Regions from separate parts of the Homo sapiens genome. Here region 1 is linked to region 2. Evidence: promoter capture Hi-C in 16 types of primary human blood cells and fetal thymus (Javierre and others, 2016). All regions are on one chromosome and are shown on one strand. Each heading gives the region's core, a stretch centred on a gene start or on the middle of the fragment in contact. The rest is flanking DNA. Distances are from core to core; before and after follow the strand shown. Region 1 overlaps RNGTT (RNA guanylyltransferase and 5'-phosphatase). Region 2 holds the start of RARS2 (arginyl-tRNA synthetase 2, mitochondrial).

Region 1 (7,156 bases), core at 1,573-4,072, 1.3 Mb before region 2:
ATTTGTTAATGTGAAACTGAGGATCTTAATATGAGTCCATTGAATTTCTGGGAAGATGACATAAGGTAAAGTCCTCAAGACTGCCCCCTCTTCAGACACAGTTGCAAGTCTTAGCCTCCAGAACTTCTGACCAGCTAGCTTCAATTTGGAGTTCTCACAACCCCCTCTTTGGATTCAATTAATTTGCTAAAGCAACTCACAGAATTCAGGGAAACTTACGTTTACTGGTTTATTTTAAAGGATATTACAAGGAATACAGATGAAGAGATGCATAGGATGAAGCATGGGGAAAAGAGTGCAGAGCTTTCACGTCCACCCTGGATGTGCCACCCTCCAGTAACGTCCACGTGTTCTGCTGTCTGGAAGCTCCCCAAACCCTGTCCTTGGTCTTTTGTGGAGGCTTCATTATGTAGGCGTGAGGGAGTAAACCATTGACCATTGGTGATCAACTTAATCTTCAGCCCGTTCTCCTTCCTAGAAGATGTGGGGTGGTGTTGAAAGTCCCAACACTCTAATCTTGCCATGTTCTTTCCTAGTCCCCATCCCGAAGCTACCTAGAGCTGCCAACCATCAGTCAACTCATTAATATACAAGAAAGCATCATTTTGGTGTTTCTGAGGATTTTAGGATTTGTATGCCAGGAAACGGTTGAAGAACAAATATATGTATATTTCACAATATCACAGATGCAAACAAATGATGTTTAAATTATCTGGTCTTTTTCTGAGATTCATTAAGTTTAGATTGTATTTCTATGGAATTATAGTATAAATCATAATTAGGTGCCTAAACTAGCCTCTAAAGCTTATTCCTAAGGTAGCTAAATTACTTATTATGTATATATACTATGAAAAATGACAAAATGTACTGTTTCAACACTGGTAATTAAGCAAACTGCCATTGTAACATAAGAAGTTTATGAAAACTATTTTGAATAATTTAAAAACTTTGGGGAAAACTGGATTTTATAAGATAAGGAGATAGAGACTATTATATAAGGAGGTTGTGAAAGGGGTTTTGACACTGATTCTTTATTGTCTAGATGGATTAAACAACTTATTACTTTAAATTTTGCTTTATACAGAAGTGTCACTAGCTTTGATCAGAGTTTTCGTTGGTTCATGAATGGAACTAAGTTAAAGGAGGTGAGAAGGAGAAATACGTTTTTTCTTTTTAAAAAGTTGTAAAATATACTTAAGATTTCTTATTTAAAAAAAAGAGTTGAAAGAAACAGGAAAAAATGGGTTAAAGAAGACATGGGTATATCTTGCAAAAGAGGTTATCAGAGGCAGAATTTACTGAGCAGTGAGGTAATGAGAGAAACAGGCAAAGTGTGCATGAGCCCCATGGGGAAGGAAGAAAGTTGGAGTTTGGCAAGTCAGCTGTTCTTGTATTGTTTTTTGAACACATGACAGGTGTTGGTGAGTAGGGGGCATGGTGTGACCAACTGCTCCTATGTGAGGAAGGTTTATATATTCTGTCTGGGAAAGTGGTCTGAATTTTCTTTATAAGAAATTTTAGTATACTTGAATTTATTTCTGTATACTAATACAACATTGAGAATTAGCTTTCAGGGACTTCTGTGCCAATTCTATTGGGAATAAAAATGAGAAGAAAGGTAGCTTGTATAGAAATAGCAGAGGTTTGGTAGTGAATTCTTATGAGAGAAAAGATGTACAGAGAAAGTAAACTCTAGAATTAGCATTATACACTTGTCTATGTTGAAGGATGGTAAATAGATGGTGTGTCTCTTGGCATGAAGTTACCAGGTAAAGGGCTAGTATTATGTAACCCTTGGTATTAAGGATATGTTAGGGACATTACAGTGGGATTTCATCATAGGCACATTAAACCTCCTTACATTTAGCTGTATATATTGAGGCAAAAACAACAACAACAAAAAACCCATTAACATGTTTTTTTTTTTTTTAAGTTAAAAAAAAAATAGAGATGTGGTCTCACTATCTTGGCCAGGCTAGTCTTGAACTCCTGGCCTCAAGTGATTCTCCGCTTTGGCCTCCCAGAGTGCTAGGATTACAGACGTGTATCACTATGCTTAGCCTTCTTGACTGTAAGCAATAGAAATCAACTTTGGCTAATTTATGCAACGGAATAAATAAGGAGAACCACTTTTGGAAAATGGATAGGAATCAAGGGAAGCCAGCAGCAAGGACCAGAGCCAAGGTCAGGGCACAGGAACACTTTGATTAGGAAGCCACCATTAGCACTTGCTGACAATGTCTTTGCTGTTGCTATAAATAATTCTGCAACTATTCTTGTGCCTCTCTGTCACTCAAGTTAAAAGTTTTGGGAAAGGAACATGGATAGTCTGGTCTAGATCCTGAGCCTATTTCCAGCCTGCTAGGGGTAGGGAAAATCTGGGCCTTTGGTTTCCATCTAAACTCATGGTGTCCATCGTTTCTTCCAAACAAAATGGGACAATTACTGCTTCCTTCTTAAATGCCCCATGGCTCAGTAAATATGCCCAGTTCCTGAAGCCAGAACTTGGAACTTCTCTCATTTTCTCAGTCACATATCCAGTAAATAGCATATTGAATTACTGTCAGTCTGCAACTTGAATATCTTGAGTTTATCTATTTATCTCTAAAATTATTGTTACTACTGTCGTAGTCACTGTGATTTCTCACATGGTCTATTACAGAGGCCTTATAATTTCTCTTGTCTACAGATTGACCCCTATTCTGTTGGGGTATACATTATGTGGTGATGAACTTTTAAAAATGCAGGTGAGATTATGTCATTAGTTTGCTTAAAACATTTTAGTGGTCTGCATTTATTTACCTCCCATCTCTCAGTTCGAGTCCACCCTTTTATTCTGTGTTAGGGGCTGGGACTTTGCAACCTACATTTCCCAGACTCCCTTGCCAGCTTACTTCGTGTTAAGTTTTACCACTGGGAGCACAGGCAGGAATTTGGAAGGTGAGAGAAGGGACTACTCTTATTCCCAGTTTCTGTAAGGACACCTCCAATAGCAAAGGACAACTATTACTCCATTCTCCAACTTCTTTTGTCACTCTCTGCACCAGTCTTGCTGTTTCCTCTCAGAGATACCAGCTTCTGGGCAAGGCATCCTAGGTAGATAGAGTGCCACTTGTATCACTTCCTAACCTGCTGGACTTTATTCCCTTAGTGGTTTGACCATCCTCTATTGGACACCTGTTCATAGGGATTCAAACTTAAGCTACAGGGCCATTTGTGGCCACCTCCTTAGAGGTTAGAGCATTCTGCCACATGGACCTCTTTCACCTTCTTCCAGGCATAGCCCTATAATGCTTTTCTTCCAAGCTCCTAGCTTTTCAATAACAGACCTCTTTCATTTTGTTCCCCTAGTCCTGCGGGTCATAGTGCTTCCTGCAACTATTAATCTCTGAGTTATTTCAGCCTTCCTGTTCTATGTTCTCAGCTTTCCAGTATCTTTGTAACCAATGTGCTGTATTATATATATCTCCTGGGTTTGAATTCTGCATTATGGTTTCTGTTTGTCTCATACAAGTAGTTTTTTGTTTTCTAAGATAAAGTTAAAAAAAAAAGTTAAAATAACTAGTAGCTGGGGGTGGGGGGATTAAACAGATTTTCAGACTGAGTACGGTGACTTATGCCGGTAATCCCAGCACTTTTGGAGGCTGAGGTGGGAGGATTGCTTGAGCCCAGGAGTTTGAGGCTGCAGTGAGCTATGTTCACACCACTGCACTCCAGCCTGGGTGACAGAGTGAGATCCTGTCTCAGAAAAAAAAAAAAGTTTTCATAATTCCTATTTGTCTGTTACTTCTTTAGTCTCATTTCATACCATTTTCCTGCTTTCTCTTTACACTTGAGTATTCTGAACCTTTTTTAGTTACCAGAACATTGCTGCATTCTATCTTGTCTGAAGGACATTGCACCTACTAGTCTGTGTACTCCAACCCTCCCATCCCTCATTTCTCTTCTTCTCTCACATTACAACCTGTGCTGGGTTGACTCCTACATATTGAATGTGAGGGTTAGTATACTGTAGAGGGTGTACAAACAAACTATTGTCTAAATTTTAATATCAGCGTTGCCGTTGTGTCAGCGTTATGACATTGGGCAATGTCTCAGTTTCCTCATCTGGAAAATGGGGATAATAATTTTACTGACCTGGTGAGGTTGTTGTAAGGATTAAATGAGTTAATAAATGAGTTAATAAAAGTGCTCTTTTCTTCAGAACATAGTAATTGCTCAGTAAGTGTAACCTGTTGTTATTATCAGCTATGCATGAATTCCTCTGGAATGCCTTCCATGATCTCCAAACTCTGACAGGCTCTACCTTTGTAGGCTCCTGTAATAGCTTCTTCTTCACTGTTCTAATATGTATTATGGTTGGAATTATTTAATATCTTGTTTTCTTTTTAAGAGTGTAAATGATGTGAAGTTGAGAAGAGAGTCTGTGCCATTTGCTGTTATAACCCTAGCATCTAGTACTGCCTAGCATCTAGACTGGCTCCAGGTCGGCCCTTTAACTTATATTTTAAAAAATAATTGATTAAAAAATTTAAGAGAAAAGCCATAATAAGTTTGATAGGGGCTAGGAAAAATGGATAGAGATAGAGATGGTGGTGAAATAAATCAATGTAAATGATCAGCTTTTCTGTTTTTATTGCCCATCAAAATGCTCTAGTATGGAGGCTGTATGACAGAAGAAGAGGAATATCTGTTGTTTTGAAGCCACTGTGGTACAAAGAACAAGGGTTAGAATCCTGTCTTAATTCATTGCCACTTTGCAAAGGGAAAATGTTTCTCTGGGTCTGATTATAGACTACATTTCTGGCTTGGTGGCTTTTTTCCCCCTTGTAAAGCTTTAATTTTGCCCCCTGTGTCTAAAAGCAATTTGTGTTTATTTCTAAAAATTTTGAAAGTACAGAAAAGCTTAATGAGGAAAGCAAATATCATTGATAATTCTAATACATAGAGATGGGGCAGCTCTTACTATTTTGGTATAGGCTTTACTCTATATTTACGATATACATACAGTTTTGTCCTCCTCCTTTCCTCTGTAATTATTTAATGTATTCTGGTTTTAAACTTGCTTTTTTCCCACTAAATATATTGTAAATCTCTTTCCATATTAATGAATATTTTTATCATTGTTTAAAAAATGCTTGACTAGTATGCTTTTACATGAATATGCAATATTTATTTTACCTATTTGCTGAATGATGGACATTTGAGTTTTTATCCTTTCACTGTTATAAAATATTATGATGAACTTTGTTGTACATACAGCTTTGCTTAACAAATATTGAGTGCCTTCCTTTAGTGTGTATTCAGGTAGACTGTGCAAGATACTTAAGCTGTGAGAAGGAACAAAATAGATAGGATTTCTGCCTTCATAGAGTATAAGATAAATTCCTGAATTGATGATCAGAGTTGGGTCTAAATTGGTGATAACTTTAAATTACCAGGAGTTTAACGACCATTTTACTCTCAGACTACTGGGAGGAATGTGAATTAGGACTCTAAGGTGGTATTAGTTACCATTGTTTTCTGTCAGTTTTCCTTCTCTTTAATTATGTACTTCCTAATTTTATTAATGTATATTTGGTTGTTTTACTTAATTATATATCTCACATCTCAGCAACTGCTCTGAAAGATTATTTCCAGTTTTGGTAGAAAACCTGCATTTACAGTAAAGTAGTCTATACATCTGGCTTTTCTGTAATCCATATACCTTTGGTTTATATACTTTAGCATTTTCTATCTGGGAAACGTATACTGAATTAAATTTTGCCTTTTAATGGGAATGAATGAATATAATACAAATACCTATTGATAATTCTGAATATTAAATTTGCAGTTGAGATAATTTCCTAATTAATAAGAAATTATATTGCATCATAGTTATATACTAAGGCAGTATCTGACAGTTTGTGAGGTAGTTGCTTCTTTTTAAAGAATCTGGCTGCTTTCAGGGACTTTGGAGTGATGTGGAAATATTTCCACATTCCTTACATGAAATAGCTCCTTACTTTTTGTTAGTATCGCATAACAAAAGAACATATGATTTGGAATGACTGGAGTTCAAACTAAAAATCATAGCTCAGGAACTTGTGTTCCAAAGCCTGAAAATTTATGTGTGCAGAAGAATCCCTAAATACCAAGTGCTAAATAATTTCTCTGGTGTTTCTGCAGATGCAGAAGCTATCCTTTTGTAAATCCCGTCCTCTAAAGCTTTTTCTTCCTTAGTCTTTTAAATCTGTTTATACACATGTGTGCATAGAAAATATTTTCTTTTGATTGATACTCTACTTGATTTAAAAGAAAAGGTCTGATACTAAGATGTGTGTGTGTGTGTGTGTGTAAAATAAATACATCTTCACCCTGGGATAATACCTATTGTGTTTAAACATTAAATTTAAAATTCTCAACTTCTGGGCAGTCAGTGAAAGGGGAAATATAATTTCAGTTATCATTATTACATGATCATAAGAGTAAACCATTTCTTTTTTCTGAATTCTAACATTTATTAGCTTAAGTCAGCTTTTCTCAAATTGTAAGTATAGAATACCAATTCTGTCAAATTTTAACAGATATCAGGATTAAGTTTAGGAAACAATGGACTAAATAAGATGAACAGATTTATTTATATATTTTATCATAACTTTAAATATCCTAATATATATCTTGACGTTCTAAGAGAAAGATACAGTGGTTTCCTAACTTATTTGCCTTGAAATACCCTTTTGGTGAATATCAGCTTTGCAAAATGCCAGCCTAAGTCCTTAACAACATGATGGGTTGTGTGTCTTCCATGCCATTTTTGCAGATGATGTCATCATTGCTTTTTATTTGATCTTCCCTTTTGTTGATTTAAATTCCTTTTGAAACATAATCCAAGGCAAAGCTTACTTCTTCCAAGTAGCTTAGATTCTCTCTATCCACCAGGAATTGCTGCTTTTGAAAAGCATGTGCCAGAGGGTCTTGCGAACTAAGTATTCCTGTTGTCTGTGTGCCAGCTGGCCTGGCATTTGGTCTAGGAGTCTTTCAGATACACAGTCAGTCCAGACTGAGGCTGAATTTATTTTTCCTAGTGAAACCTGAGTCCCCACACTCCCCATCTACTAGGGCTGCAGCTATTATAGCAAGGGCCTGAGCTCTCCATCTGCTCCCCAGACACCTG
Region 2 (6,990 bases), core at 2,081-4,580:
TTTGGAATAGTGCTAACATACATATTAGGCAATCAGAATATGGAATGAATAAATGCTTGCCAAATAACTGTCCTGGTAATTTCCCAGCTATGTTTAGTTTCATATTATTGTTTGACCAGTGGTAGATCACCCCCAAGTTAGTGGTCCTAGTCTATTCTACCAATTCTAAAGTCATACATGATGGATAGCTTATAGTTTTTTTTTGTTTGTTTGTTTGTTTTTTTGAGACAGAGTCTCGCTCTGTCGTCCAGGCTGGAGTGCAATGGTGCGATCCTGGCTCACTGCAACCTTTGCCTCCCGGGTTCAAGCCATTCTCCTGCCTCAGCCTCCTGAGTAGCTGGGATGACAGGTGCCCACCACCATGCCTGGCTAATTTATTGTATTTTTAGTAGAGACGGGGTTTCACTATGTTGGCCAGGCTGGTCTCGCACTCCTGATCTCGTGATCCATCCGCCTCGGCCTCCCAAAGTGCTGGGATTAGAGGCATGAGCCACTGCACCCGGCCTGATGGATAACTTCTTAAATATTTCGATTTCTATGGAAAATAAAAGACAGAATGAAAGAACGATACCTAGGAAAAGTTGTCTCAGGATAGTGTTAAAGACCGCTGTGCAACTATAAAGTAGCCATTTGGATTACATGTTCCCATTTAAGAACTGTGCCTTAGATTCTTTTTTCTGCTATTGTTGAGACAGAGTCTCCCTCTGTTGCCCAGGCTAGAGTGCAATGGCACAATCTTGGCTCACTGTAACCTCTACCTCCCGGGTTCAGGCGATTCTCCTGCCTCAGCCTCCTGAGAGGCTGGGATTACAGGCGCCCACCAACATGCCAGGCTAATTTTGTATTTTAGTACAGATGTGGTTTCACCATGTTGGTCAGGTTGGTCTCGAACTCCTGACCTCAGATGATCCACCCACCTCGGCCTCCCAAAGTGTTGGGATTACAGGCATGAGCCACTGCACACAGCCCTGTGCCTTATATTCTTATATCTGCAACTAGCAGAAGTGTGCGAAATCACATACATATTTAGAAAAATCATGTGATACCATGACAAACCTGTCATTACCTCCTTTCCAAATCCACCTGCAATTCAGTAAAGGAAAAAGGAGCTTCAAAGGAGCAAGACATGAGGAGTGATCAGAAAGGATCTTAATATAGGGCAGTGGTAGTAACATGGTTAACCATTTGGAACTGCTGGTCAAGTGATGGTGTTTGAGATAGAGGAAGGCCAACAGCCAGAAAATTTCACGATGAAAGAGACACTAAAATGTTTTGATATGTTTAAGGACCGGGCGTGGTGGCTCACGCCTGTAATCCTAGCACTTTGGGAGGCCGAGGCTGGCGGATCACTCGAGGTCAGGAGTTCGAGACCCGCCTGGCCAACATGGTGAAACCCTGTCTCTTCTAAAAATACAAAATTAGCTGGGTGTAGTGGGGCATGTCTGTAATCCCAACTGCCCGGGAGGCTGAGGTGGGAGAATAGCTTGAATCGGGGAGGTGGAGGTTGCAGTGAGCCGAGATCGCGCCACTGCACTCCAGCCTGGTAACAGAGCAAGACTCTGTCTCAAGAAAAAAAAGAAAAGAAAAAGAAAAAAAGCTTGCAGTTCCATAAATTCATGAAATAGTTCTTAAAGCTTCTTATTCATGTAAGGTCTCATCCCAATACAGACATTTGTTATAATACCAAAAATGCTTTCCTGAAAAATCTTACTTTCTGCAAGATACATAAAAATAAGAGGTGCTTATGCAATCAACAGGATTAAGGGATAGACCATTCAAAACCTACAGAACATTATAACCAGGACAAAATAAAACCAGTACCATTTCTAATAAAAATACTACCTTTGAATCTCTACTAGCATAACCTTAAACCCCAGGGCTTGTCCTTTTTCCTTGAGATGTAGTCTTTAAAAGCACTGCTTCTCATAAACCGTTTTAATCAAAATAAAAAATCAGATCCATGACATAGCCTTCTTCATCAATCCATTGTTTTAACATAGGGAGAATGTAGCTTCTTCATGTGCATTTTTCAGCTTTCTCAGACAGCTTAACTTCAGGGGCTTCCCGCTGCACTTACAATAGAACTCAAGGTCTTACTTTTTGTGGTCCAGAACAGCGCTGTCCAACAGAACTTTCTGTAATGATAGAAATGTCCTATATCTGCACTATCTAAAATGGTAGCTGCAGCCACATGTGATGATTGAGCACTTGAAATGTGGTTAGTGCAACGGAGAAACTGAATTTTTATTTAATCTTACTTTATTTTAACTCAAATTTAAATAGCCACATGTGGTGAGTGACTAACACATTGGACAATACAGCTCTAGGGCTTATCTTCTTACCAACTACACTATGTCTTGCAATTTCTTGCCATCTAGGTAGCCAACATGAGGAGGTCTATAAGATATCCCACCACACACACCCGCATCCACATTACTTTTTCATTCTCATTTTTCATGACGCTCCCACTCTTTGTCTACTTTCTGATTATGATTTTTAAATTCCTCTAATATGCCATTTTATTTCTATCTTCTGGGCCGAAGAAACATGCTGTTCTCTCTGCCCTCCTCGCCCTAATCCTTAACCTAACTTCTACTCATTTTTCAGGTCTCAGCGAAAGGGTCACTTTCTCCAAAAAGCCTCCGCTAACCCCCGACAACCTATATTAGGTTCTTCCCACTCTTCTGTTGTCTGCCTAGAACTCTTTTCCTTGCTAACACTTAAAATTTGTGATCGTCAGTTTATCTATGTTTACCGACTTTCTTGACTGCAGAAACTGAATCTGTTTTGTTTACCACTGCATCTTGGTACCTAACGGAGTGCTTGGCGCACAGTATTTGTGAGATGGAAAAATGAGAGACTGGGCCACATCATCAGGACATCCGACCTCCACCAACCAGAACTTAAAAATCCTCCTAGCCATACCACAAGGCAGATCCGCGTCCTCGCTCCCCAAGCAAAGTTGGCCTCAACTGATCTGGAGCAAGGACGCCTCAGCTCAGTACGCCGCTCCCTCCCTCCTCTCCAGCCAGGGAAGGGATGCCTACGTAACCTCGGCTTCATCCCTTCTTCAAAGGGGAATGAGGCAGCGGTAGAGCCACAGTGCGCATCGGCCACCACATACCTTAGACATCGAGGACGTAGCCATGGTCTTACTGACTCTGCGTATTCCAGATGCACTCGGGATTTCCCGCGCGCCCTCGCGGCTGCAGGGCAGAGGTTAGTGGCGAGCCACACGGCTCCTTGATTGGCTGGCATCACCCTCCGGGGCGGGTTTCCGGCGCGGGGAGGCGGGTCGTATAAGGAGGTGGGGCGAGGCCGGAACTGGCGGACTGCGGCGCACTTCCGTAGAGGTGGACATGGCGTGCGGCTTTCGCCGCGCTATTGCTTGCCAGGTATGGATCCCGGAGCGCGCAGAGGAGTCCCTGAGGAGCTAGGGACCCCAAAGGCCTTTCACCGCTGCGGGCCAGTCCTCAGTCAGCTGGAGGGTGGGTCCCACGGAATCCTGTTAGTTTCTACCACCTCCTCCCCCTTCTCTGGAGCTGGTGGAGCTTCAGAAGTCCTGTGGAGCGTCGGCTGGGATCAGTTTGTCTCGGTGAAAAGTAAACTTTGAAAGGTACCTGGTGCTTTCTTCTCTCCTTCCCACCCCACAGCTATGAATGCTTTACCTGGGTGGCGGCAAGTCATTAGACCATGATTAGACCCCATAGAAGTTAGTGTTCTTTACACTTTAGTGACATTGATGATGGATCTGGATTGTTCTTCAGAAGGACCTCATTTTAAAGCTGCTTATTTCTCTTGCAGTCACTTAGGCAGCCTACCCTAGAATTGTTTTTGGTAACGCCCAAAGATATAAGAGCTATCTGAGACTCAGTTTTTCTTGGTTCAGGGTCGTATTTGAACAGCTCTGTTGTGAGGAAGGGCTTACAAAATTGCAATATAATTGCTTTGTTTTGTTTTTCCTTTTTGTGGAGAACGGGGTCTCGCCGTATTGCCCAGGCAGGCCTCAAACTCCTGGGCTCAAGCTGTCCTCCCTCCTCTGCTTCCCTAAGAGCCGGGATTACAGGCCTGAGCCACCGCGCTGGGCAAAATTGCAGTATAAATGTGGAATTAATCAAAAAGAATTTTTAAGACTCATTGGCCACCCTTGCAAGGAAACTTTCTATTGTGGTCTTGGCTAACCCATTTCCTTCTGATTAATGGATGTACTAGTGGACGTAATTAGCCTGGTGTATAATTTATCTTGGCTCATTTTTACAGTATTTCTAGACATTTGTGGGGAAATCCCTCTGCCTTGTCTTTATGTTTATAGATGTACTGCCCTGTCCGGTGATAATTCGCCAAATATCACCAACATGACATTTTGTTAAGACAGCTGAATTTATTGCTCACTGGGATAAGGAAGAACACCACTGAGAGCTTTGGTAGTGTATTAAACTGGGAAAGCAAGGTCAGATTTTACTGATGGGTATGGCTTAAGGCTGGTCTTTCAGAGGGAGAGGGTAGGAGGGTGTTGGAGGAAGATGGCTTGATTAGGGTTGGACTCTGATCTGATACAGCGGTTTAAGATTGATAGGAAAAGCAAAGAGTGCAAGAAGCCTTAAGGCATAAACTATTGAGGTTTTCTATTGGAAGAACTAATAGGCCTGGCATGTGGTTCATGCCTATAATCCCAGCACTTTGGGAGGCCAAGGTGGGAGGATGGCTTGAGCCCAGGAGTTCGAGACCAGCGTGGACAACATAGGTAGACCCCGTCTCAACAAAATTTTTTTTAAAAAGTAGCCAGGCATGATGGTGCACCTCTGTAGTCCTAGCTGCTTGAAAGGCTGAGTCTGGAGGATCACTTGGACGGACCCACGAGTTTGAAGCTACAGTGAGCTATGATTGTGCCACTGCACTCCAGGGTGGGTGACAGAGCGAGACCCTGTAAACAAAAAATAAAAATAAAAAACGTGAAAAGCTAATAGATTTCTCATGAAGTTCTTATAATGAATGATTAAGTTATTTGGGCAGAAGTCTTCTAGAACAGTAAAGTTATGCTAATGAAGACAAAAAATAATAAATTCATGTTAATGTAGACAGTAAACCATATCAGGGAAGGTAGTTTTGGACCTTAGTATCTAAGCTGTGTGTAAGGGTGGACGTTTTCCATTCTTAGCCCTTAAGTAAAGATAGTGCCATGATGAGAAACAAATTGTGTTTAGTTTTGCAAAGGCTGTGTTCTTTGTAAAGACTGTAAATTGGACCAGGCATGGTGGCTCACACTTGTAATCCCAGAACTTTGAGAGGCCGAGGTGGGAGGATCCCTTGAACTGAGACGTTCAAGACCAGCCTGGGCAACATAGGGAGACCCCCATCTCTATAAAGAAATAAAAAACAAAACTTAGGTGTAGTGGCACACACCTGTGGTCCCAGCTGCTTGGGAAGCTGAGGTGGGAGGATCGTTTGGGCCCAGGTGGCTGAAACTAGCAAGCTTTGATTGCACCGCTGCACTTCAGCCTGGGGGACAAAGTGAGTCCCTGTCTCAAAAAAAAGAAAAAGATAAGTTGGAGAAACAAGAACTAATATATTGAGTATATATTTGTGCTAGTTACTACACATTCACATTTAAGCTCATGGCAACCCTGTGATATAGAAGTATTAACCTTATTATATAATTGAGTCAGTTGAGATCCACAGAGATTAAATAACTTACCCAAAGCCACATCATCAATACATTGTAGAGTTGGTTTATGAACAGAACTCTAACTTTAAAATTAGATCTTTCCTATATACTGTGCTCTTTGTGAAAGCAAGAAGCACAGTCCAATCATTGAACAGAATCTAATGGATTTATACAGCAGTGTAAATTATGCAGATATATATGTATTTCTCTGAATATAGAGTCATTGGGGAATGATCTGAAACTTGAGGATAAATAATAATATTTTCAATACGTTAGGACATGGGGAAAAAAGAGCAAAGAAAAAACATGTTCCGTACAGTTTGAGCATCCCTAAGCTGGAAATCTGAAATGCTCCAAAATTTGAAACTTTTTGAGTGCTGACATGAGACTCAATGTTCATTGAGTTCATTGGAGCTCAATTGGAAATTGGAAATGTTCATTGGAGAATTCCAGATTTTCAGATTAGGAGCTGGGTATGGTGGCTCATGCCTATAACCCCAGCACTTGGAGAGACTGAGACAGGCAGATCACTTGAGCCCAAGAGTTCAAGACCAGCCTGGGAAACTAATTAGAAAATTAGTTGGGCATGGTGGCACCCTCCTGTAATCCCAGATACTTGGGAGGCTGAGGTGGAAGGATCACTTGAACCTGAGAGGTGGAGGTTGCAATGAGCCAAGATTGTGCCACTGAACTCCAGCGTGGGTGGTAAAGCAAGACCCTGTCTCAAAAAATAAATAAATAAATAAATAAATAAATAAATAAATAAATAACCAACCCCACAGATTTTCAGTTTAGGGATGCTCAACAGGTAAGTATAAAGCCAATATTCCAAAATCTGAAAAAATTCAAAAGTTGAAACACTTGTGGTCCCAAGGATACCCAGCCTGTATTTAATACCTTTGCGAATGAGCATCGTTTTGCTATAATAGTTTAGGAATGAAGGAATGTGTAACGTGCAATGGCAAATGCATTTAGCTAACTTTGATTAATTAGTCGACAGTTTTCTAAGCACTGTCATCAGTCCCAAGGCTAAAAGTGAACGGAAAATAGTTTCTGCCCTGAAATGGCCTCAGACATGCTTGGAAAACGATGTAAACCGGTAATTGCATTGCAGCCTGTAATCACTGTATTAGAAGCATGTGCAAAGTGCCAAGGGAACTTGAAAGCTCCTAAGGGTCAGACAAAGTTTTGTAGAAAGGTGATGTTAGGTCTCAGTTTTGAAAGGGATATGGGTAGGAGTGTGCCAAGTAAATAGAGTGAGAGCTTGGGGAGAGGTCAGGTATTGCAAGAGGAGGATGTGCATAGACACAGACATCTGGAAAGCA

What was found. The method cuts DNA at HindIII sites, captures the fragments that hold promoters and counts their contacts. A CHiCAGO score of 5 or more calls a contact.
Region 1: a fragment that was not itself captured here is called in contact with the fragment with the promoter of RARS2 in region 2 in 6 of 17 cell types (naive CD8 T cells, naive B cells, total CD8 T cells and 3 more); the score reaches 7.5 in naive CD8 T cells.

What each region holds. Positions count from the first base shown.
Region 1 is chr6:88,855,599-88,862,754 of GRCh38, reverse strand. All of the region lies in intron 8 of RNGTT (RNA guanylyltransferase and 5'-phosphatase), which reads left to right. Among named protein-coding and RNA genes, the nearest start is that of RNGTT, 100 kb to the left of the region's middle. The HindIII fragment of the contact is 4,031 bases long and covers 807-4,837 here.
Region 2 is chr6:87,586,327-87,593,316 of GRCh38, reverse strand. It overlaps RARS2 (arginyl-tRNA synthetase 2, mitochondrial), which reads left to right and starts at 3,330. Exons shown (of 20, transcript NM_020320.5): 1 at 3,330-3,395. The coding sequence starts at 3,360. ORC3 (origin recognition complex subunit 3) reads right to left here and starts at 3,182. Exons shown (of 20, transcript NM_012381.4): 1 at 3,125-3,182. The coding sequence starts at 3,148. RefSeq lists enhancers at 864-1,364, 1,365-1,865, 3,246-3,475, 3,239-4,200. The HindIII fragment of the contact is 3,839 bases long and covers 1,637-5,475 here.